Regions from separate parts of the Homo sapiens genome. Here regions 1, 2, 4 and 5 are each linked to region 3. The links are contacts of gene promoters, found by promoter capture Hi-C in blood cells and fetal thymus (Javierre and others, 2016). All regions are on one chromosome and are shown on one strand. The core of a region is centred on a gene start or on the middle of the fragment in contact, and the rest is flanking DNA. Distances in the headings are between cores, read along the strand shown. Region 1 has its middle 3.8 kb from the start of RALGAPA2. Region 2 holds the start of ZNF337 (zinc finger protein 337). Region 3 holds the start of NAPB (NSF attachment protein beta). Region 4 overlaps KIZ (kizuna centrosomal protein). Region 5 overlaps ZNF337-AS1 (ZNF337 antisense RNA 1).

Evidence for each region. Contacts are between HindIII fragments. The CHiCAGO score rates a contact against its expected background, and 5 or more counts as called.
Region 1: a contact is called between a fragment that was not itself captured here and the fragment with the promoter of NAPB in region 3, in 4 of 17 cell types (naive CD8 T cells, naive CD4 T cells, non-activated CD4 T cells and 1 more). The highest score is 9.3, in naive CD8 T cells.
Region 2: the fragment with the promoter of ZNF337 here is called in contact with the fragment with the promoter of NAPB in region 3 in 6 of 17 cell types (total B cells, total CD4 T cells, non-activated CD4 T cells and 3 more); the score reaches 17.6 in total B cells.
Region 4: a contact is called between a fragment that was not itself captured here and the fragment with the promoter of NAPB in region 3, in 3 of 17 cell types (total CD4 T cells, non-activated CD4 T cells and naive CD8 T cells). The highest score is 9.7, in total CD4 T cells.
Region 5: a contact is called between a fragment that was not itself captured here and the fragment with the promoter of NAPB in region 3, in 1 of 17 cell types (total B cells). The highest score is 5.1, in total B cells.

The regions. Positions count from the first base shown.
Region 1 is chr20:20,715,084-20,717,783 of GRCh38, forward strand. No RefSeq gene overlaps it. Among named protein-coding and RNA genes, the nearest start is that of RALGAPA2, 3.8 kb to the left of the region's middle. The HindIII fragment of the contact is 3,801 bases long and covers 1-2,700 here.
Region 2 is chr20:25,695,583-25,698,282 of GRCh38, forward strand. It overlaps ZNF337 (zinc finger protein 337), which reads right to left and starts at 1,271. Exons shown (of 5, transcript NM_015655.4): 1 at 1,177-1,271. LOC107985400 (a long non-coding RNA gene) reads left to right here and starts at 1,459. Exons shown (of 2, transcript XR_007067557.1): 1 at 1,459-1,581. RefSeq lists an enhancer at 675-784. The HindIII fragment of the contact is 13,942 bases long and covers 1-2,700 here.
Region 3 is chr20:23,420,193-23,422,892 of GRCh38, forward strand. It overlaps NAPB (NSF attachment protein beta), which reads right to left and starts at 1,296. Exons shown (of 11, transcript NM_022080.3): 1 at 1,113-1,296. The coding sequence starts at 1,210. RefSeq lists silencers at 285-514, 1,145-1,234 and an enhancer at 1,485-1,674. The HindIII fragment of the contact is 2,788 bases long and covers 1-2,095 here.
Region 4 is chr20:21,128,194-21,130,893 of GRCh38, forward strand. The region is part of intron 1 of KIZ (kizuna centrosomal protein); the gene reads left to right. Among named protein-coding and RNA genes, the nearest start is that of KIZ, 3.5 kb to the left of the region's middle. The HindIII fragment of the contact is 7,603 bases long and covers 1-2,700 here.
Region 5 is chr20:25,627,884-25,630,583 of GRCh38, forward strand. The region is part of intron 1 of ZNF337-AS1 (ZNF337 antisense RNA 1); the gene reads left to right. Among named protein-coding and RNA genes, the nearest start is that of ZNF337-AS1, 5.2 kb to the left of the region's middle. The HindIII fragment of the contact is 6,800 bases long and covers 1-2,700 here.

The DNA of each region.
Region 1 (2,700 bases), core at 134-2,633, 2.7 Mb before region 3:
ACAACTCTTATGGAAGGAAATTTGGCAAAAATAAATATTTGCCTTTTGACCCAGAATTTCAATTTCTTTTTTTCTTTTTTCTTTTTCTTTTTTTTTTTTTTTTTTTTGAGATGAAGTCTGGCTCTGTCACCCAGGCTGGAGTGCAGTGGAGCTATCTCGCCAGGTCCAAACGATTCTCCTGCCTCAGCCTCCCGATTAGCCGGGATTACAGGCGTGCGCAACCACGACTGGCTAATTTTTTTGTATTTTTAGTGGAGAGGGGGTTTTGTCATGTTGGCCAGGCTGGTCTTGAACATCTGACCTCAGGTGATCCATGGGCTTTGGCCTCCCATGTTTTGTTGTTTTTTTTTTTTTTTGACAGTCTTGCTCTGTCCCCCAGGCTGGAGTGCAGTGGTGTGATTTCAGCTCACTGCAACTTCTGCCTATCAGGTTCAAGCGATTCTCCTGCCTCAGCCTCCTGAGTAGCTGGAATTACAGGCATGTGCCACCATGCCTGGCTAATTTTTGTATTTTTAGTAGAGACAGAGTTTCACCATGTTGGCCAGGCTGCTCTTGAACGCCTGACCTCAAGTGATCCACGGGCCTCAGCCTCCCAGAATGCTGGGATTACAGGTGTGAACCACCACACCCAGCCAGAATTTTGACTTCTAGGAATCTACCCTGCAGATATTCTAATATATAACACTGGAAGGATTTAAAAAAAAACCTTAACATTAATGCCTACCTAAGTGGGATAGAGGATGAGGTGGAAAGGACTCAGTGTCCTCTCTGAGTATATCTTTTTATATTTTTTTCATTTTTGAACCATGTAAATGTTTTCCATATTCAAAAATTGAAACAGAAAAAGACAAGCCTGAAAATAAAAAATAAATGGAAAAAATAAAACTAACAATATATGTAATTGGTAGGATAACTCTATGGAGAAATAAATATAAAACCATGCATGGAAGTTTATTCCTTTCACCACTATTTATAATAGCCAATGTAGTGGGTTGAACAGTGCCCACCCTTCCCCCCAAAAAGATATGTCTATGTCCTAATCCCTGAAAACTGTGACTGAGACTTTATTTGGCAGAAGGATCTTTGCAAATATAATAAGATCCTCAGTTATCTGGGTAGACCCTAAATCCAATGACAAATGTGCTTGTAAGAAACAAAAGAAGTGAAAACATAGAAACAAAGGAGAAGGGCACATGAAGACCAAGGTAGAGATTGAGGTTATGGAGCCACAAACGAAAAGACCCTTATAGCCAAGAGAAACTGGAAGAGGCAAGAAAGGATTCTCCCTTGGAGTCTTCCAGAGGAAGCCCAACACCTTGATTTCAGACTTCAGGATTCCAGAACCGTGAGAAAATAAATTTCTGTTGTTTTAAGCCACGCAATTTGTGGTAATCTGTTGCAGCCACTCTAGAAAACGAGTATGACCAGATACCAGAGAGAACCCTGTGATTGTCTAACAAGGTACTTATATACACATACATCTATAAGTGGCTAATTTAATCCAGTTCATCCACACAGTGTAGCACTATGGAGTACTATGCAGCTGTTTAAAAATAATGGGAAAATTTCGCGTGTACTGACTTGACATAATTTTCCAGATACGTTGTTAAATATAAAAGGAACAGAATATTAAAAATTTTTTTTTCAAAAAGAAACACTGGAAGGATAAATAAAAAGCTAACATCAATTCCTACCTAAGTGGGATGGAGGATGAGGTGGAAAGGAATGAAACAGGGTCCTCTCTGAGTATACCTTTTTATATTTTTTTCACTTTTGAACCATATAAATGTTTTACATATTCAAAAATTAAAATAGAAAAAGACAAACCTGAAAATCAAAAATAAATGAAAAAATAAACCCAACCGTATATGTAATTGGTAGCATAACTATATAGAGAAAATAATTATTTCAAGTGATTTTTGAAAACAGTATTCTGATTGTACCTCCTTAGAGGGATGTATTCTAAGGGCAAAAAGATCTGCAAAGAATTAATAATTATTATTAAGAACCAAGATTTTCAGTGTAAGAGAAAGGAGATACAAAAATATCACATCAAAGAAAATGTGAAAACTCTGTAATACTAGATTTTACTTCAAATATCCATTTGAACTCATAATTTAAAAATACAGCATGTGTTGGCCAGGCGTGGTGGCTCACGCCTGTAATCCCAGCACTTTGGAAGGCCAAGGCAGGTGGCTGAGACTATCCTGGGCAAGATGGTGAAACCCTGTCTTTACTACAAATGCAAAAATTAGCTGGGCGTGGTGATGCATGCCTGTAATCTCAGCTACTGGGGAGACTGAGGCAGGAGAATCGTTTGAACCAGGGAGTTGGAGGTTGCAGTAAGCCGAGATGGCACCACTGCACTCAGTCTGGTGACAAAGCGAGACTCCATCTCAAAAAAAAAAAAAAAAAAAACTAAACAAAAACAAACAAACAAATGTCATACATGAATGAAATGAATGAATAAAAAGAAGGCCATACATTCTTTTCTATTTGCTGGACGCAGTGGCCCACACCTGTAACCCCAGCACTTTGGGAGGCCGAGGCAGACGGATCACTTGAGGTCAGGAGTTCGAGATCAGCCTGGCCAACATGGTGAAACCCTGTCTCTACTAAAAATACAAAAGTTAGCTGGGTGTGGTGGCAGGCACCTGTAATCCCAGCTACTTGGGAGGCTGAGGCTGGATTGCTTGAACT
Region 2 (2,700 bases), core at 21-2,520, 2.3 Mb after region 3:
CTGTGTTACCCAGGCTAGCGTGCAGTGCAGCCAACATAGCTGGTTACAGCCTCCACCTCCTGGACTCAACTGACTGGGCCTCCCAAGTAGCTGAGGCCACAGGCATGGGACACCACGCCCCGCTAATTTTTTTATTTTTCTAATTTCATGTAGAGACAGGGTCTTGCTGTGCTGCCCAGGCTGCTCTGGAACTCCTGGCCTCCCAAAGTGCTGGGACTACAGGCATGAGCCACACTGCTCAGCCTGATTTATGACTTTACCTGAAATTCCTGTCTCCCTGAATTGTATAAAATTAACCTGCAAGCCTGACCATCTCGGGCACTTTCACAGGACCTCTTGAGGCTGAATAACCTGGGCCACAGTCACTCATACTGACTAGGAATAAACCTTTTTAAATATATTTTGGCAGAACCCGGATTTTGCCGTCATTAGCAAGGCCCCAGGGAAGAGGCCACCTGGGTCCCCACAGCCACCTCACCTCCCGCGGACGCTGCCCCACGCAGATCCCCCCCCCCCCCCACCAAAACACGTCTAGACGTGCCCGTGCGAGGACATTTGGTCCCGGCCTACACTCCTATCCGCGGAAGATCGTCCCAAGGCGGGGTGCTCCCAACCCAAAGCAGCGGCCCTTCCCCAAAACACGCGGGCGAAGTCCTCCCCTGTCCCGCCTCCCACAATAAAGTCTGGAGCATCAGAGTCGGAGGGAACCCGAGTCGGACCTAGCCCATCCGTCTCATGGCTGTAACCCCCACCCCACCAGTGGACCCTGGCTGTGGCCGAGTCCCCCTCCACCTCCGGCCAAAAGACCCCCGTGGCAGCTCGCTAGGCCGCTGGCCCGTCCCCACCCGAGGAGCGGCGACCCTGGCACAAGAGGACCTGGGTTGCTCGGCGCCCCTGTGAAATCCGGGCTGTTCACCGCCCGAGCCGCCACTACACGCAACCGGGAACGGAGACTGAGTGGCGGCCCAGACCCGGGGCGCTCGGCAAGCCGCAGCCCCACCGCCCACTTCAAGGCGCGGCCTGGGTCTCCGCCCCTCCCCAGAACGCGGAGACGCCGGGCCTGGAGGAGCGCGCGCTACGGCCCCAGCAGCGCCCTCACGTCCCAGGCCTTCCCGGCCCTTCTTCCTGCGCCGGAAGGGCGCGCTGCAGAGAGGGACCCGCAGGAGCGCAGCTCACCGGGGCGGCTGAGGGCGAACCGAGGCGGTGAGGTCACCGATGGTGGACCACGCATCTCACGGCTCGCTGACGCCCAGGGATCTGGAACGCTCTGCGCCGCCCGGGACTACACTACCCAGAATCCTCAGCGCGGCCGGGACTACGCTACCCAGCATCCTCGGCGCGGCCCGGAGGCTATGCGACCCTGCGCGTCGCATCCCCTCGGTGGACTACACTCCCCAGAGTCCTCGGGAGTCGTCCAGGTACACGCCCCAGAATATTGGTCATAGCGGTCCACCCGGGACTGCGCGACCCGGAATCCTTGGAAGGACTTCTCGGAAGGACTCCTCTCTGACAGGTGGGGCGAGCCTATGGTCGTTTGGACGTGGAGGGATCCTTTCAGAACCGGCGATTTCTTTTATTTAGGTAGCCCTATACATACATTAAGCATATTTTCCCATTTCTATGATATAGGTAAATAATTTTCCCACTGTCTTTTGATTATGGGTATGTCTTTTTTTTTTCTTTTGTTTCTTTTTTTTGCTATGTAGTACTTTTGATCTCTGATTTTCCTACGGATTTTGTGGTTTTATCATTCACATTTAGATCTCTCAATGGTTTAATTTTTCTCCAGGTACACACTGTAAATATACAATTATTTTTAAAATTTTCTAATATTTTATTAATTTCCCATTAAATTTATTAAAAATATAGTCTTTTACCAAATAATTTAAGGTTTCAGCTACATAATTCAGTATACTCAATTTACATTTGCATTTCAATTTCTAATTGTTCCCCCATTTATCTAATTATGCATCAATGCCAGAATTCTTTCATTATGTAGGGTGTATAATATGCTGATATCTTTTGTGGCTTGCCAAACCACGTAGACTTTATATTTCAGGCCTTTACTAGGTATACTTGCTGTTTGCTTTTTCTCTTTTGGTTTTTAAATTTTTAATTATTCTGGATAAATATTAGTTGTACATATTTATAGGGTACATGTTATGTTTTGATACAGGCATACAGTGTTTAATGGTCAAATGAGGGTGATTGGGGTATCCATCCCCTCAAGCATTTAGCATTTCTTTGTTTTAGGAAGTTTCCAATTCTCTCTTATTTTTAAATATATAGTAAAATTGTTCTTAACTATAGTCACTGTATAGTGCTACCAACTACTAGATCTTATTCATTCTAACTGTATTTTTGTATCGATTAACAAGTCCCTCTTTATCTCCTCTACCCACCATCCTTCCCAGCCTCTGTTAACTATCTCATTCTACTCTCCATCTCCATGAGTTCACGTTTTTAGCCCCACAAATGAGTGAGCACATGTGATATTTGTCATGCTGTGCCTCATTTCGCTTAACATAATGTCCTCCATTTTCATACATGCTATTGAAAATGACAGAATTTCATTCTTTTAATGACTGGCTAATATCCCATTGTGTTAATGTACCACACTTTCCTTATCCATTCATCTGTTGATAGACACTTTGATTCTATATCTTTACTATTTTGGATAGTGCTGTAGTAAACATGAGA
Region 3 (2,700 bases), core at 46-2,545:
GCGGGCTCTGCTTTTTGAGAGGTTGGAATTTAAAATCCTCCTTAGGAGAGCACGGAAGAATTACAGGAAATTAAAGGGATTCCCAAAGGACGCCTGACTTAAACAGCAGCAGCGTTACCGTTAATCAAACAGGAGGCTCTGGCTATCAATCAATCTCCGGAGAAGGAAAAATACTATGCTGAGAAAATATATTCGTTCATTAGTCAAGTATTTACTAAAGGTGTACTCGGCGCAAGGCCCCTGGAGAGAGGCCAACAAGCACACCAGCTCTGGATCCCTCGCCGGACCGCCCCCTCCCCGGCGGGGCCCACCTGCAGGCGGGACGCCCCCAGGTGCGCGTTCCAGGCGCCGGGGGCGGCCCCCGCACCCACCCCTCCGGCTCCACCCCGGCGCGCCTCACCCGGACCGGTCTCAGGAGCGATACGGGCTTCAGCGTGGCGAAATGCACCAATACGACTCGCTACGCACTGAGAAGGGGGCCCCACGCGCGCCCCGAGCTACCGCGCCCGCGGGCCTCAGGGAGCCGCTGACCTTCTAGGTCGTGGGACCCCCGCACCAACCCGGGCCAGGGCGAGGGGGGCGATCTGGGGTCTCCAGAGGGCGCGTGAGGCTGACAGCCCCCCCCCCAGAGTGTTCTAGGGGCTTCGTGGGGCGCTTGGGGAGCTCTGGGGGTCCTAGGGGTTCTCTGAAAGGCGCGTGGGGGCTGAGGGTCCCTGTGAGACTCTGGGGATTCTAAGGGGGCGTGTTAGGGGATCCGGAGAGCGTGTGGGGGCTGAGGAACCCTGGGGAGTTCTGCCGGCCCTAGGGGGTCTCTAAAGTGCGCGTGGGGGCTGAGAGCCCCTGGGAGGATGCGGGGTTTCCAGGGACCCTGGGGGGGCCTGTGGGGTCTCTGGAGGGCGCGTGCGGACTGAGGGCCCCTGGGCGTCCTGGGGGCTCCAGGGGGCGCTGGGGGACCCTACAGGATTTCTGGAGGGCGCCTGCAGGCTGAGGGCCCCTAGACGTGGTCTGAGGGCCCCAGAGGTTGCGTGGGGGACTCGGGGGGTCAGCCTGAAAGGAAGGGGGCCAAGTACGGAGACCCCCCCCCCCCAGGGCACGCACGGTCTGGCGCTCACCCAAACAGCCCTCGGAGGAAGGAGTGGGAGGCCTTGACTCGCTTCTCGGCCTCCGCCATCAGCTGTACTGCCTCACGCTCCTTCCCCGCGTTGTCCATGTCGCCCGCCGCGGCCGCCACAGCCCCCTCAGCCGGCTCGCTGTGCGCCCAGGCGCCTTAACCCTCCCTCTGGCGGCCGCAGGGACGCAGGCGCAGGCGCGACGCGCGAGGCCTTTCGGGAGCTGTAGTCCGGGTCCTGTCATGGCGGCGGGGATTCGCGAGCCGCCTACTACAGTTCCCAGGAGGCCCCGGGGCGGGGTGTGTGTGAGCCGAGCTTGCGCACCGCTAGCTCCCAGGACGTCGGCGCAGGGGGCGTGACCCCCCCAAAGGGGTCCTGGGCCAAGGTGAACTTTAATTTTGTATGTATGCAGAAATGGAAAAATGATCCGTGGCCTCTAGTAAAGATCACCTCCTCAGTAAGACTCGCATGGCAATGGGATGGATGAAGGAACAGGGGATAACAGATTGGATGGAACCCACACCCTTCATGCAAGTTCTGCAAAAGAGAATCTGGTGTAGCCACCAAAGCATCACATGCTTGATACCGCCCACCAAAAAACGAGCAACAGCTGGCAATAAGAGCCATTTTTATCTCCAAGAGCAAGACGTCCCCAATATAAGTTCAGTTATTTTTAAATCTCCCCAAACTGTAACTTTCTGTTGGTCCTCTCTTCCTTGGTTATAAATGAGTTGCATATATGCAATATATGCATAATCCACTCTTTTGTTGACTGAATTATATTCAATGGATGTGAACCATTGAACTCTTATCCTTTACATAATACTGGCCATAGTGGATGGATCTCCAGGGACAAAATGTTTGCCTGCCAGGAAGACTTCTAATCTCCTAGGAGAAGTATCCATAGATAGATGGGATCCTGTGCCAGAGACTTTCAGGCCTGTCCCAGAGGGAGTTATTTTTGAAGACAATGTCTAGACCATTCAAGCTTGGCAGTGCTAAGGCAGAGATGCTGAAACTAATAAGAAAATCACTGCCAAGTGAGATTTATGACAGTTTCAAACTGTTAATAAATACACTCTGGGCACTGGCATGCAAAATTTTAGAAAATGAAGACTGTCTGTAGAGGGCAAGGCAAGAGGGGCCAAACTCCTAGAAAGAAAGTTGACTAAAGCACATGTCACAGAGTTCATACATTTCAGGACTCCGTAGAGATAGAAAGAAATCTCAGCTCTTCGTGCAGTTTATTTACGATTACTACATGCATTATTCTAACTTTGAAAAGCTGAGCTGTGTGTTTTTGGAGAGAGAAGGAGGCGGGAAATTGGAGGTGACCGTAAATGCAGGGGAGACCAGAGAAAAACTGTAAAAAGTGAACATAAGCATTTGGAAAGCAGAGCAGTCTATGGGGGCTTAATGGAGTGAGGCTAAGTCAAAAGCTCCTAAGTAAATCAGTGTGTTGATTAAATCAGTTGTTCCCTAACGTGGTTCGATGCAGAAGCTCTAATGGATATTTAAGAAATACTGATTCCTAGGCCACTGGGTTTTGGTATCAAGGTCTCTTGCAGCTGGGGTCTAGAAAATGCACATT
Region 4 (2,700 bases), core at 17-2,516, 2.3 Mb before region 3:
GTGGAGATGGGGTTTCACCATGTTGGCCAGGCTGATCTCGAACCCCTGACCTCAGGTGATCTGCCTGCCTCTGCCTTCCAAAGTGTTGGGATTACAGGTGTGAGCCACTGCACCCGGCCTTGGTTGTACCTTTTTAAACAAAGAAACACAAAGCATCCCACTGATCACAGATACCACTGTCTCCTAAAATTCCTGAGTCATTTCATAGGGAGCAACCCTGGGTAGTCACAGCTGCTTTATCAATCCAGAAACTTCTGGGAAGTGGGAGACAAAAAAAAACTCCCTCTTTCTCAGCCCTTTTAGAGGTGGTCATTGCAATGTTAGCTGGTCAAATAACCAGCATATTTCCAGCCCAAGTCATGTTAGCTGTAGTTACACGTAGATGTAATTTTATCGTCTGAATGTTTTCCTATGTGTGTACAGTGTTTTTTCTGCATTGTGGTGAAAGTCAATAATTGAATCTAAAAGAGTCTAATGGAGTGACTTGTTACAGTGTGTATAGCACCCACAAGCATGGTAGAAACTTATAAGTGGAATTGGCTCTTACGGTTATACAAAAACATCCTTTTAAAAGGGCCCATTAGCCAGCCGCGGTTTTTTCAGTGCCTATATTGATTCAGAGTAAGATATCATAATAGTCTAGAAACTGACACTGAGATATTAGTAGAGTAAGCTGAAGATGGTATAGAATTGTGGTATCGAGACAAAAACAGAATAACAAGTGGCTTAAAAGTAGAAAACTCAGCAAGATAAGGACCACTTAGCTGTGTAAAACTGAAAGGTCCAAGTGAGGGGTGACTGAAAACATGAACTATGGGTAAGCATCCCAGGGATGGGTATTTCAAAGATTCTGAATAGAGATTTAATATGTAAGAATTGCAAGCCATGGAAAGGCTTTTCATTGAGGCAAATATCTGGTTTTTAGTATTAAATTTTAAAAAGACATGGAGGGCTCAGCATTCTGAGGTGCTGCAGTGTGGATGAGGGGCTAGAAAATAGGCCTGTGAAGAAGAGTTAACAAGATTACCACCGTTTTGCCTGGGAGAGAAAGCCAAGAGGAGTTTGATTATCAGGGTATGAAGTGTTATGATAGAGAAGTGTGAGCAGCAGATGTCTGCATCTGCTGAAGATGTTTTACAAATAAATTTTACATTCATTACTAAGAAGAACTTGCTGCTTGGGAGGTGGTGGATTTCCAAAGTGACTGTGGTCCTTTTTCACTAGAAGTCATAGGTGAATTTTAGAAATTATTTTAAAGTGGCTGGGCGTGGTGGCTCACACCTATAATCCCGGCACTTTGAGAGGCAGAGGCGGGTGGATCACCTGAGGTGAGGAGTTTGAGACCAGCCTGGCCAACATGGCAAAACCCCGTCTCTACTAAAAATACAAAAATTAATTGGGTGTGGTGGCGCATGCCTGTAATCCTAGCTACTTGGGAAACTGAAACAGAATCCCTTAAACCCAGGAGGGAGAGGTTGCAGTGAGCTGAGATTGTGCCATTGTACTCCAGCTTGGGCAACAGAGTGAGACTCCATCTCAAAAAAAAAAAATGTGTGTATATATATATATATTTTTTAAAGTAAATTCTAGCTTACAAAAAAGTTGCGAATATAGGACAAAGACCTCCAGTGTTCCTGTCACCCAGATCCCTCAACTATTAACATTTTATTAGATTTTTGACACTGAGATATCAGTTGGGTATCTATTTAAATCTGTCTATCTAAAACCATTAGCCTTTTCTGATCTGTTTGAGAAGTGCATATATGATGCCTCATCACTCCTAAAATCTTCAATGTGTGTTTCCAAAAGCCAAGGATGTTCTTGTACATGATCACACCATACAGCCCTCCTAGTGGTGAAACCAGTCCGCAGACTGCATCAGATTTCACCAGCTATCTTAACGATGCTCCCTTTTTTTTCCCCCTGGTCCAGTGGCTCACCTGCAAACCGCGGTTGCATTTGGCTGGCATGTCTCTTCAGTCTCCCTACATCTGGAACGATTCCTCAGTCTTTCCCTGTCTTTCATGTTCCTGACAAGTTCATAGAGTACAGCTTTCATTCTAGAGGGTGACCCTCAAGCTGAGTCTATCTGATGGTGTCTCATTACCAGACTGCAGTCGTGCTTTCTTAGGAATACAACAGAAATGAAGCACTACCTCAGGGCATGGGGTCATAGATGTATTCAGAGGTCTTCCTTTCTTTGTAATTTAATGACAAGTTGCTCACACTATCCAGTCATTCATTCTGCATGAACCAAGTACCCAATTGATCATGAAACTCTAGGGGGGGAATGGTAACTAATAAAAATTTCTAATGTGGAAGCAATTATGCTATGTTTCCTTCACTTCTATTCTAAGTTCACTCTTACTAGTGAGAAGGTAAAGATTTGTGATGCTATTAGTTAAAAATGTGTGTTTTTGTAATTTTTTTCCTTTTAATCTTTTTTTTTTCTTTTTAACATAGGCATACTGCAACCCATGGGTTGTGTTCCCCAAGTGAAGATTCTGTGTCTGGATTTTGGACCCCATATTCCCATTAAATGAATTTTGGTTAAATAGTAGTTTCCATTTAACATTATGCAAAGGAAAGAAAGTTATGTAACCTGTAATGTAGCTAACAGTGACTTTTGGGATGATCTTTTTTTTAAAGGAAAAGAACTATTCTGAAGATATATAGAAACTGATAATTAAGAGCTCACAA
Region 5 (2,700 bases), core at 136-2,635, 2.2 Mb after region 3:
CTTGCTCTGTTGCCCAGGCTGGAGGGCAGTGGCACAATCTCGGCTCACTGCAACTTCTGTCTCCTGGGCTCAAGTGGTCCTCCCACCACCATGTGGCAGCATGCTTGGCTAATTTTTTTTTTTTTAATTTACAAAGAAAAGAGGCTTAATTGGCTTATGGTTCTTTGGCCTATATAGACTTCTGCTTTTGGGGAGGCCTCAGGAAACTTACAATCAGGGTGGAAGGTGAAGAGAAAGCAAGCACATCTTCACATGGCTGGCAGGAGAGAGGAGGTGGGGAGGTGCTACACACTTTCAGTCAACCAGATCTTATGAGACCTCTATCTCAAGAACAGCAAGGGGGACGTCTGCCCCCATGATTCAATCATCTCCCACCAGGCCTCTCCTCCAACACTGGTGATTACAATTCGACATGAAATTTGAGTGGGGACACAGACCCAAGCCATATCAACTAATAAAGATAACACTAACTGTTGTAACAAACTGCAAATTTTAGTTGTCTGGGCAGTGAAATAGAAGTTCACTTCTCATTTATATAAAGTGTGGTGTGGATTGGTCCTGGGTTGATAGTGTCATTTCTCCATGGGGTGACGCAAGGCCCAGGGTTTTTCTTGTCATAGCTTCGCCATCCCCTAGAACCTGGGAATCTTCTATCCCCGGGCACTGGAAACCTGGAGAGATCATCGGGGAAGCACACCTGATTTTGAAAAACCCTGGCCTGGAAATGACCACTTCCCCTCTGCTTGTAGCCTATGGTTTGGCCATGACAAAGACAAAGGTGGCTGGGAGATGTCATCTGTGGCTGGGCAGCTGTTCCCAGCAGCCCCTCTATCTTCTGGAAGGTGGAGCATGAATTTTTTGTTGGTTCACTTGTGAATCTGTCACACCAACGAGTGCTGTAAAATTCGGAGTGGGATTTTACATAGAGAAAGCTAGAAAAACAACTGTGTGTTCATGAGGCCAAGGCATCAGGGTTGAGCACAAACAATTTGAGTGCAGATTTGTCTCTGCTAGTTAATCTCACTTTACAGTGCCCCCAATGTCATGGGTTATCCGGAAGGTTATTTCATGTACCGCCTTTGTGTGGAAGCACATTTCCATAGATAGTAGATAAAGATCTCTTAACCTTATATTTTCCCTCATATCATCATAAATAGCTTATGCAATGCCATTTCAGTGAGTCTGACAACTTCTCCAATGAGGTCTGGATGCAGCAGCGTATCTTTTTGTTATATATAAAAAAGAGTGACAGCATTCATCGTTTACAGTGACATCAATGAATTCTGCTTGTAGAGGTTCCCCATCCATCCGTTCATAATACCTTTTATGACTTCAGGCTTTTAAACATCGCACTCTGGTCTGTTTTTCAAATATACCACCATTATCGGCTCAGGAAGCCATTCTTCAATATTTCATTTTCCTAAGAATATCTGGAATATCTTAATTCCTATGAGGCTTCTCCATGGGGTAGGCTCTCAGGTAGGACTTTAACAGGAAAAGGGGGAAAACTGCTGCTGGAGACACGGTTCCTGAGCACAGCTGTCTGCTCTGTACTGGGAAGTTAAAAGGGTTAGAAAAAGGGGAGTTATAACACAGACTGAGTTATATCTTGGGTCATTCCTGACCTGGAAACATATTAGCTCTTCAGAGCCCTTGAGTTTGCCATCAGGAGAAGGAGAGACACCCATTCAGGTGAAGCCTGGAACCACCAAGGGTTGGGTGAGGAATGGGCAGTGAATGTCCTTCCTAAGATACCCTTCTGCTGATGAGAAGTGCATTCTTGGTTTCCCAGGAAGTGCCCATTTGGACAGAGATGGAGAATTACGAGGGGCATTGCTTCTCAATGTTTTGTCACTTTTGAGGTGCCACGGTGTCTTTCTTTGGCCACCATTTCCTGGTTTCTTCCTTGTCTGCAGATCTTACTAGAGTTAGGCAAAATCAATTTCAGGTTCAGCTCTAGTGGACTGGGAACAATCTCCAGCAGGGAACTCCCTGGACAGTCTGGGGACAGCTGGGACGATTCCTGAAGCAACTTAGATAGGAAAAATCACGATGAGCTTTGATTTAGGGAAGAACATTGTTGGGCACCCTGAGTCCACCTGCCACCAGCCGCGGAGGGCATGTTATAAACACACCAGACACGCCAAGGATGGGAACATTGGACCTAATTTAGCAACAACAAATCCTTTCCCTCATGCATACTTCTCTAATTACAAATGAGATTGTGGTAGGCTTAGCATGGGTAAATAAAATTGATTCTGTCCACAAAATTGGAGATGATAAATGTGTTCAAGAAAGGGCTTCAAATGCCTAGCTGCTGATTAGAAAAGGCAAAATAATTGTGAGATGGTGACTAATAGATGGAAGGAATTGTGGTAGAATTGGTCTCCTTGCAGAAATATCACTGGTCTGATCTTTTCAAGATAATTACCATCAAATGACTGTGTGTTTCATGCTCTACCCTTCAGTTGGCCGAGGCATTGCAGGAATCCCCACATTGACTCGGCTGTAGGTGGCTCTGGCTTTCTCTCTGTTTGAAGCCTGTAACGGAGCCCCTCTGTTTTCTTTTTTCTTTTTTTTAATTATACTTTAAGTTCTAGGGTACATGTGCACAACGTGCAGGTTTGTTACATAGGTATATATGTGTCATGTTGGTGTGCTGCACCCATTAACTCGTTATTTACAGTAGGTATTTCTCCT